Regions from separate parts of the Homo sapiens genome. Here region 1 is linked to region 2. The links are contacts of gene promoters, found by promoter capture Hi-C in human tissues and cell types (Jung and others, 2019). All regions are on one chromosome and are shown on one strand. The core of a region is centred on a gene start or on the middle of the fragment in contact, and the rest is flanking DNA. Distances in the headings are between cores, read along the strand shown.

Evidence for each region. Contacts are between HindIII fragments. The study calls those that stand out against the background at their distance.
Region 1: a fragment that was not itself captured here is called in contact with the fragment with the promoter of KCNF1 in region 2 in 1 of the 25 tissues and cell types used here (IMR-90 fibroblasts).

The regions. Positions count from the first base shown.
Region 1 is chr2:10,947,458-10,952,476 of GRCh38, reverse strand. No RefSeq gene overlaps it. Among named protein-coding and RNA genes, the nearest start is that of KCNF1, 38 kb to the right of the region's middle. The HindIII fragment of the contact is 4,058 bases long and covers 1,451-5,019 here.
Region 2 is chr2:10,909,271-10,914,737 of GRCh38, reverse strand. KCNF1 (potassium voltage-gated channel modifier subfamily F member 1) reads right to left here and starts at 2,804. Exons shown (of 1, transcript NM_002236.5): 1 at 513-2,804. The coding sequence starts at 2,311. The coding sequence ends at 827. RefSeq lists an enhancer at 5,259-5,467. The HindIII fragment of the contact is 13,350 bases long and covers 1-5,467 here.

The DNA.
Region 1 (5,019 bases), core at 2,230-4,729, 37 kb before region 2:
GCCTGCTCCAGCCACTTTTTCAGCTTCGTCTTCCAGGTCAGAGCTTCAGCACAGGTACCTGGGCCTCAGAGATGTGGAGCTGAAAGGGCGCTCAGCCCTTCCGGGAACTGTGGATTCCTCAGGATGGCTGCTGCAGGGGGAGGGGAGTTTTTTCCAGCATAAAAGCTGGCTGCAGCTCCTGGAGGTATAAACCTGCCTTGTGCACCCCACTTTCTGGAGATGCAATCCCACACTGAGCATGTCCTCCTATCCCCTCCCCTCACCACCCTGAGCTCAGCTACTGCCGTGTCTGTTTTCATTCTTTTGTGTGGGCAGCTTGTTCCTCTGGGCCAGATTCTGCACCTTGGAGGGTGGGAACTGGGGATTCTGTCCTTACTGCCCAGCCAAACAGCACGAAAGTTGGCATTGACCCAGCGTGGTTTCCATGCCTGATGCTGCAAACAGATGTTCAGTGTGGTAAGCCCTAAGCCCGGGTGGCTTCATAGACTCAGGAAAAGCATTACTCTGGCAGCTAGAAACAACCCAGGTACTGGAGTCGGTTCTGGGTCTTTCTCTCTGGTTGTGTAGTCTTGGCTAAGCCACCTCCCATGTCTGAGCCTAGGAAACCTGTACACATCACAGTCTTCGCACCCACATCCCTGGGTGGCTGTGGCCTCTGGCCTGGGAGTGAATGCACCCGCCTCTTGGTGTGCAGCTGCTAGAGTGTGGCTCTCAGGAGAGAGGTGTCCAGGCTGGCAGATGATGTGTTGACACCTGTGAGTACTGCAGAGGACCCAAAAATTCCCAAGGCCTGGGGGCAGAATGGATGCATGGCCACATCTCCTCCAGCATTGGGTACCCTGAAGGGTCAAGTGGGCACTCACAAAGCCAGGGCCTGAGCAAGGGCAATCTGGGCACCCACACCAAAGAAGAGCAAAGGACCCATCCACATGTCCAGGGGACCACACAAGCCTCCACGCTCCCAGACACACACACAATCACACCCACAACCCACATCTCAGAGGAAGAGCAGTCAGAGATGGGGGATGCCTGGAAGTCTGAGCACTTACCCAAAAGACAATGAATTGCCCTGAGGAAACCAGGCTAGAAGAGACTGAGATGCCGCTTCTTGGCAAATAAAGTTTCTTTATCCTGGTATCCAGTACAGGGAGGCTCCTGAGGAGGGAGATTCCATGGCAGCTGACTGGCTGAGTGCAGTATGACTGGGACACATTGCCTTGTTCCCATCTCCCCTGCTGCGGTGGCATTTCACCAACCCAGTCCAGGTGGCAGCAGTGCCCACCCCTCACTCCTCACTTACCCAGCAGACACCATGTGAGACCCTGGCCAAGTGCGGTAGGGAGGCAGAGACACAGATAGGGCCTCAACCTCTGGGAGCTCATGGTCTAGTACAGAAAACAAGACTCCAACTATGTTGGGGTCTTTTCCAAAGAGCAACCATAGGTAATCTGCTCCTCTGAGAGGGGTGATATAGAAGAGAGGATTGTTCATGTGGGAGACAGTTTTGTGGGACAGAATAGTCGGGAAGGGTTTCCTGGAAGAGGATGGATCTCTGAGGTTAGATGTTGTGTTAGTCCATTCTCACACTGCTATAAAGAACTACCTAAGCCTGTAATCCTAGCACTTTGGGAGGCCGAGGCGGGCGGATCACAAAGTCAGGAGATCAAGACCATCCTGGCTAACATGGTGAAACCCAGTCTCTGCTAAAAACACACACACACACACACACACACACACACACAAAATTAGCCAGGCGTGGTGGCGGGCACCTGTAGTCCCAGCTGCTTGCGAGGCTGAGGCAGGAGAATGGCGTGAACTTGGGAGGCAGAGCTTGCAGTGAGCCGAGATCGCGCCACTGTACTCCAGCCTGGGTGACACAGCGAGACTCTGTTGCAAAAAAAAAAAAAAAACAAAACAAACAAAAAAAAAAAAAAACAACTACCAGAGACTGAGTAATTTATGAAGAAAAGAGATTTAATTGACTTACAGATCTGCATGGCTGGAGAGGCCTCAAGAAACTTAAAATTACGGCAGAAAACGAAGAGGAAGCAAAGCACATCCTACATGGCAGGAGAAAGAGGGAGTGAGTAGGAACACACATTTAAACCACCAGATCTCATGAGAACTCACTATCATGAGAACAGCATGGGGGAAACCACCCCCATGATCCAATCACCTCCCACCAGGTTCCTCTCCTGACACATGGGGATTACAATTCAAGATGAGATTTGGGTGGGGACACAGAACCAAACCATATTAGATCTTGAATTTAGATAGTTGAAAGAAGAGAGGGAGGGCATTTTATGTGTTCATCCATCCATCCAACCATCCATCCATCCATCCATCCACCCACTCACCCATCTACCCAAACATCCATCCATCCATATATACATCCACCCACCCACACTCATCTATCCATCCATACAGACATTCACCCACTCACCCACCCATCCATTTCTCCACTTATCCATCCATCCACCCATCCCTTTACCCATCCATCCATCCATCCACCCAGCCACCCAGCCACCCAAACGTATACCTATCCATCCATTCATCCATTCACTTATCCATCCATCCATCCATCCATCCACCCAGCCATCCAGCCAATGTTATTTGTGCAGTGTTTATGAGCCAAGCACAAACTAGGGGGATTCATGAGATATTTAAGGTTCTACATTGCAATTCCATTTTCAGACACCATCTCTGAGCCCACTGGCTAAAGTGGTCATTTGAATAGACTTGGTCACTTCATGTTGTAATCTATTAGCACTTTTACTACATTTTTTCTTTTTGGCTAGGTCATAATAAAAGCTGTGTGTATTTGAGGCAGGAGCCAATCTGGGAATTTTAAAATCACTTTCCCCTGGTCTTGACAAGCTGATCTCTGCTTCTAATAGAAGGGACATAAGCTTAGGCAAGGCAGAAGTAGCGGAGGAGTCCTTGAAAGATCTATTTCACCTGGAAAATCACATGATATAGTTTTACATTTTAAACAAATCAAATGCAAGGTCTTCCTTTCCAGGTGGGTGCACTGGTTCTCATGATGCTCCTGTGTAGGGAGGGTGTGAGCAGTGGGGCCAGGCAGGCCTGAGCGGAAGCCCAGCTCTGCCACTCACCATGGGGCAGCCTTGGGCATGTCTGCCTGGACCCTGGTTTCCTCACTTACAGAGTGTGGGCACTTCTACCTTCCTGGAGGAACTCAGGCAAGCACTAAGAGAGAGCCTGCCCAGCCCATCCATCTGCCCCAGGTCCTCCAGGCTCAGAAGTTATCACTAAGCCTGGGCCATTCCACTGAGCCAGAGTCATGGACCTCGAGGTCATTGAGAGCCAGCTCTGGAAGCCGGAACCCAAACAGCAATGAAAGTTGCCCAAAGTCCCACAATGAGTTGATCCACCGGGAACAGGAGGAGGCCCCGCCGCCAGCCTCTGTGTTATACTTGGCATCTCGTCCAGGTTTATCGGAGAGGAGATCACACGTCCCTTCCCCAGCCCTCCCAACTCCTCCAGCCAAGACAGGTGCCACCATCTACCCCAGCCCCAGTGTGCTCTGAGTGTGCCGGATGGCCCCTTACCTGTAGCCATGCCATGCCCAAGCCTCTTCCTTCTCACAACAACCCAAAGAAGACTCTTGGGGGCTGGCATTGCCCGTTGACCAGAGACCTCACTCCTCTCAGCAGAGCAGCCCAATCCCTTGCCCTCCCCGGTTCCCACCTCGTTTCCTCTCCCGGTGTCCTCCCCACCAACTCCACACCAGGCACCCCAACACATCCTCAAAGGCCGCATGCGAATGATGTCCCCTTCTGCCCTTGATACAGTCAGCCTCACCCTTGTTCTTGTCACCACTGGCAGGTCTGTAGGGGGCTGCACACCCTTGACAGCCCCCCTGAATCCCTGCCATGGCCCCTAACTGGTCTCCTGTTGTCCATTTCTCCTCTCCCAGGCCATTAGTGCCCTATCTTCAGAGTTTTCCTTTTCGGCAATTATCTGACTTGTCCATTCCTGCTTTAGACAATCCAGTAACTCCTGGCAGCTGTCAGGACAAGGCTCATACTCCAGGAGTGAGGCCCCAGGCCTTCAGGGCATGGCCCCTGCTGATGTGGCTCCGCACTAGGCCCCGTCCTCAGATGCACTCCCTTCGTCCTCTGCTTGACGGGTCCCCTGTGGTTCACCTCTAACGTCTCCATGTCAGCAAAGCTGCCCCTCTATGCCCAACCCCACCACCACCATCTAGTAGTTCACATGAGCATGAAGCCACATAGCTATGAATGAAGTGCAGTAATGAAGGCGAGTTGTTATCACTGTTGAACGGATGAGAGAAAAGAGTCTCAAAGAGAGGGATGTGCTTGGTCATGGCAAAGAGGGAGGCATGCTTGGTCACACAGAGAATGTGCAGCAGAGTCCTGGGCCTCCGCTCCAGAATTTAAAACTGTCCCCAGCAGTCCCAGGGGCTTGGTGTTGATTTCTGCTGGAAATAGTTAGAAAGGCTGGCTGCAGTAATTACCGTGTCTTCTGCTCTCTGAGGGGCTGCTATCTTTGGCAAGCTAATTACTAATAAGGTTTGCTCACCAGCCAGTGTAATCACCAGAGAAAACCATCTTTAAGGACTTATTCTGCCCAATTTGAGGTTTGATCTTGCAGCTGCAGTGTTCCGAGAGGCTCGGTTCTGTGACAGGGGCGTCAGTGCAGAGGACCTCCTGGGCTGGCTAGGCCTCTCCGTGCCTGCAAAGCAGCCCCCCGCTGCCCACTCCTCCCCAGGGACCTTCCCAACCTCTAACGGCAGCTTCCCTGTCTGCCGTCCAGGCTTAAATCCCAACTCTGCCAAGAATCTGGGGTTAATTTCTTGACATGAAGGTGAGGACAGTAATCCATGCCCTAGAGGGTGTTGTGAGAACAAGTGAGGCAGTGGCTGCAGAGGAGGTAGTGTGGGGCTGGGCACCCAGTAGCCCCCAGCCAGGGGTCCCCCTGCCACCCGCTTCCCATGGGAGACCACAGCTCAGCTGGGTCCCTTCCCTTCTTGGC
Region 2 (5,467 bases), core at 1,555-4,054:
TCTCATCATGAGCCCAAGCAGATGCCTCTGTCCCAAGACCACCTGGTGTCAGAGAGAACACATGGGCTTTGGGATCATCAGACCTGGGATTGTTCCCTTCTCTGTGTGACCTTGGGCCTCAGTTTCCTCATCTGTAAAATGGAGATACCTAGCTAGTAGGGTCAATGGAAGGAATAGAAAGAGGTTGTGAAAAGGGCCCGGTGCACGTGATAACTAAATGCTGCAGGCTGCTGGGCGTGCACTGTGAACTCTCCCCCATCCTGGGCCTGCAGGGGGAGCAAGCTTTACCCCAGAAGGAAGCAGCAGGGAAGCACGGCCTGCAGAGCCTCCAGGAATGTGGTAAGGCTCCTTGGCGCCGAACCTGACTATGAGCCCTTCTTTAATTAGTTCCCACTAAAAATAACTCCCCCACCACCCGGCTGCACACCTACCTCCTGGCCTGGCACTGAAGTGTGCCTGAGCTACTCTTGGGGGTGACAGCCAGCCTGTGACAGAACCTACAACACGGAGGGTGCACAGAGCAGGAGGCTTTATTGAGGGAGATACAGAAGCGGGCGTGGGCTCTCGTGCCAGCCAGGCCGCGGCCTCCACTCGTCCCACACGGCCCTGCGGCTCCTGCACACCCCTCCCTCCCGGGCTCCTGGACAGCAGGCAACATAGAGGAGTCTTACCCAGCCTTGGCAGAGGTGCCGGGAGGGCCTTCAGAGTCTGTCCAGGGGAGGGTTGGGGGGACACAGGACAGCCCTTCTGTGCTGTCGATGACATGCCTGCCACATCTACCCATCTGTCCACCGCCTGGTCCATCTCTGCCTGAGGGGCCCTCCTGTCACTTGCAACTCTGGAGCCGGGTCCTGTGGTGCTTCTCCTCGGTCAGGAGGGGGATGAAGGTGTCGCTGTGGGAGAGCTTCAGCCGGCTGCTGCAGCTCGGCGCCTCCTTCCCCGCAGGCTCTGGAGGGAGGTTGTCCAGGTCACTGCGGGAGCCCCCGGTCTTGCCCTCGCCCCCGCTGCTGGAGTTGAGTTCCATCAGCTCCAGCTCGTGCTTGGCCGCGGTCTCCAGGACGCGCTGCTTGTTGTAGTACCTGACAAAGTTGTTGATGATGGGGTGGATGGGCAGGGCGATGGCGATGACACCACACAAGAAGCTGATGGCCGCGTTGAGCTTGCCCAGCGTGGTCTTGGGGTAGATGTCGCCGTAGCCGACGGTGGTCATGGTGATGATGGCCCACCAGAAGGACTGGGGGATGCTCTTAAACAGGGTCTCTGGATGGCTCTGCTCCATGGTGTAGCCCAGGGCAGAGAAGACGAAGATACCCACTGCCAGGTACATGAGCAGCAGCCCCAGTTCCTTGAAGCTGCGCTTGAGGGCATAGGTGAGGGTCTGCAGGCCCGAGGAGTGGCGGGCCAGCTTGAAGATGCGCGCGATGCGCATGATCCGCAGCGCCTGCACGGCCTGCTGCACGTTGGTCAGCTCCATCATGCGGGCACCCAGGTGCGTGAGCGTGAGGCTCACGTAGAAGGGGAGGATGGCCAGCACGTCCACAATGTTCATGAAGGACAGCGCGAAGTGCAGCTTGTTGGGTGACGAGAAGAGGCGCAGCAGGTACTCCAGGGTGAACCAGCCAATGCACGCCGTCTCCACGTTCTCCAGCGTCGGGTGCTCCACGCGGTTGCCCTCGGCGTCCAGCACCTGCAGCTCGGGGATGGTGCCCATGCACATGACCACGGACGAGACGAGGATGAGCAGGAAGGAGAGCACGGCCACCACCCGCGCCGGGCACGACGACTCGGGCTTCTCCAGGAACTTCCAGACGCACTTCTGGCAGCGGCGCCAGCGGCCCTCGGCTGCGTCCACGCCCAGGTCGTCCAGGATGAGCTGCACGCGGCGCGCGATCTCCTCCAGCTCCTCGCGCTTCTCGCTCAGGTGGCTCTTGCAACAGTCGTCCAGGAACTTGAGGTCCACCTTCCAGAAGTCCATCTCGTTCTTGAAGCAGATGGGGCAGATGCCCTTCTTCATGTGGACCTCCCCGAAATAGTACACCTCGATGACACACTTGAAGGCGTCCGGGTCCCTGTCAAAGTAGAACTCGCGCTTGCCGGGGTCGTAGTCGTCGCACAGGGAGAAGATGGTGTCGTAGCCCCCAGCCAAGCAGTTGATGAGCTCCGCCAGCCGGGTCTCAGGGTACTGACTGAGGAGGTCCCCGTACAGCACCTGCCGCACGCCCCCCACGTTGACGACTATCTCTATGTCGTCGCTGGCAGCGGAGCTCTGGCTGCCCGGCTCCGGGAGGCTGCGCTCCCCGGACCCGTCCATCCTCCCCGCGCGCGCCCTCGCAGCCTCCGCCCCGCGCCCCCTGCAGCCGCCGCCGCCGCTGCCGCTGGGGGTCCGGCGGGTGCCACCCGTGCGCTGATCTCGGGGAGAGCCTGGCCGGCGCCCGCCTGCGGGGAAGGGCGGTCACAGCGGGCAGCAGCCTGCGGGGGCGCGCCGCGGGGGAGGCATGCACCCGGCGGCGGGGCTCGGGGCTGGCATCCGGGCGCCCGGGCGAGCCCGCGGGGGCTTTGGCGGCCGCCGGCCTCGCCCGGGGCACTCACCCCGGCTGGCTGGCGGCGCGCTCCGCCGCTTCAGCTCGGCCTCCTGCGGGAGCGGGGTCTCCTCGTGGGCGGCTGGCACCGTCCTCCGCCCCGGGGCGCGCAGGCAGCGGCGGCAGGTCCCGGAGCTGGCGGACCCACGCCGTCCGCGAGGTGCTCGAGGTGTGCAGAGAGCGAACTTGGGCTGGCTTTGCCCGAGCCTTTTCTAAACACAATAGGAATTCCAGCCTGACGTCAGGAGCTTTTCAAACTGTACCCTCTTCTGGTGAAATTCTGCAAGGCACGCGCGGCAGCTGCAGGGGACGGATTAACCCTTGGGCAGACGGGCACAGCTGCCGCGCCCGCCGCCACCACCGCGCACCGCCGGCCCCTCCTCGGGCGCAGCGGGTCACCGAGGGGTTGCGACCTGGCTTGAAGCGGCAGGCATTCTCTCTCACTGCTGTTTGGAGAGGATTAGTGGGGAGAGAATGCTGCCGCCTGTTGCTGGGCAGGAAAATGTGCTCCAGGAAGCCCCTTAGAAGGTGACTCCTATGTCTGGGTCCCTCCTCCGGCCTTAGACCCGCGCCGGCTTTTCCTGGTGGGAGGAAAATCCTGCCTGATCCTTGAAGCGTTTCCTGCCCCATCCCCCCGACCCAGCAATGCCCTGCTGTGTTGGTGGCACTGTCTCACCTTCCCCGCAACGCTGTACAAGGAGGACATCTAGTCCAGCCTCCTGTAGAAGGGAAGGGACTTGCCCAAGGTCACGCGGCGGAATGAGAGCAGAGCTCAGCTTGACCGCCTCCTGATCCCGAGCTTTCCGGCTGTCCCAGCTGACCGACGCCTGCTGTTCAGCAGATTTCAATTCTGCCTTGAAGTCCCTGCCGTCTGGCACCTCCTATCTCTCTGCAGTCCCACACCAAGGCCACTAGCTTCCAGACCCCTAGGGTCCAGTGGCTCCTGCTTCCCCGTTCCTCACTCCTTGACCAAGGCCTGTCTCTTCCTGACCAGTGTCCCACACCCTCCTCTCTTCCAGCCTTTGCAGCCACAGCTGTCCTTCTGTCCTCACTCACCTGAACCACTACAGCAGCTTCCTAACAGTGTCTCTCTCCTCCGGTTCACCACTATCATCAATACTGCAAATTACTGATATCATCTATGGCCTCGAGATCGTGTTAAAAATATTCTGGAGGGAAGAATGAATAGGCAGAGCAGAGGATTTTTAGGGCAGTGAAACGTACCATAATGGCGGATATGTGTCGTTATGCAATGGTCAAAATCCATAGAATGTTCACCACCAGGAGCGAATGTTAATGCAAACTCGGTGCTGGGCGATGATGACGTGTCCATGTGGGGTGGTCCACCATGACAAGTGTCCCACCCTGTGTGAGATGTTGATGCGCAGGGGAGAGCTGTGGAGACAGGGGGCATGTGGGAATTCTCTGTACTTTCTGTTGAATTGTGCTCTAAAATATAAAGTCTATTTAAAAATGTATTCTGTAGGCTGGGTTTTTTAAAACTTAAGGACATGTCCGTTAATGGATTATGAAATCAATTTACTGGGTCACTGACAGTATTCTTTTTTCTTTAATGAGTTAGCATAAAACAGAATATATTAGAATACATCACATGAAGTATTATTTAGTGAAACTTCGTTTTACAAATTTTACTTCATTTCCATTTAGCATCAGACAATGACATGCTACTACAGAGTAGGAAATCGAGGCTCAGAAAGGTTGAGTAATAATAAGAGTTGCCACTTATTCTCCATGGGCATCGGAGTGCAGTCTCTGAGTGCTTTGCATTTTTGTCATTTAATTTCCCAGCAACCCCTAAGGAAACAAGATGTCAGGTAACCTGCCGAGATCACTCTGTGGAGCTGGGATTTAACCATTGTCCTGCTGGGTTCTGAGGCCTATTCTTCTCCCCAGTACAGTGCTACACACCACCTCCTACACACACCCCAGCTTCCTCTTCCAATCCTTATGCATGCTACTCCCCTTATCAGCTGTCCGAGTACCTGCAGGGTTAAGTTCAAATTGCATCCTAGTCTGAGCTTAATGGGCTTCTAAATACCCATTCATTCACTCAGTTATTCAAATATTTATCGAGCTCTTATGGCACATGTGTGCAAATGCACACACACACACATACACACACCACCCTAGGTGTGGGGACAGGGTTCATATTCTAGTAGATAATATGTTTTTTGTAAATAATAATTAACAGTTTGGGGTAATGACCTTAACAAGAGGGGTATATGTATTATACAAGAGTGGTGCTTCCTGAATTTCTCCACAGGGGGCGCTGAGGGGCGGCCATCTGGTTGGAAGAGGGAGGGGCTGCATTTGCCTAGAAGCCCAGCCTTCACTCACTCAGGTTTGCATCGGGGTGTCTGATGAATCTCCCTCAGCAGATAGAGCCCCAATAGCTACTCCTTTGTATCGTCATGAAATACAAGGTGCTGTGGAACCCGGGAGTTTGCAGATACCTGGGCAGGCCCAGGAGAGGCTGGTGCATTAAAATTATACCGCTGGGATTTAGAGAGATCAATGTCATTGAAAGAACGCATTACTAACATGTCCTGAGAGAAGAGGACACGCCAGAGGAAATTCCAGGTGTGGCCAGGCAGAAGCAGGAGCGAGGGGAAAACGAGGCCAGGCCCTCTATTGGGGTTTCCTGGGGGAAAAGTTAGGGCAGAACAGAGGAAAGAGTCCAGGATTGGCTCCTTGGGATAATTCTGGTGGGCTTTGAACTACAGAGGTGGTCTCTAGTTGCCTGGTCCCTGGTCTGGGATGATTTAGGGCAGGGAAATATTGCCTTGGTGTGTGAGAGTTTGATGAGGGGAAGTTGGGGGTCTGGGCCTGGAATTGGTGGGTTTGCCTGTGAAAGATACGCTCCAGCC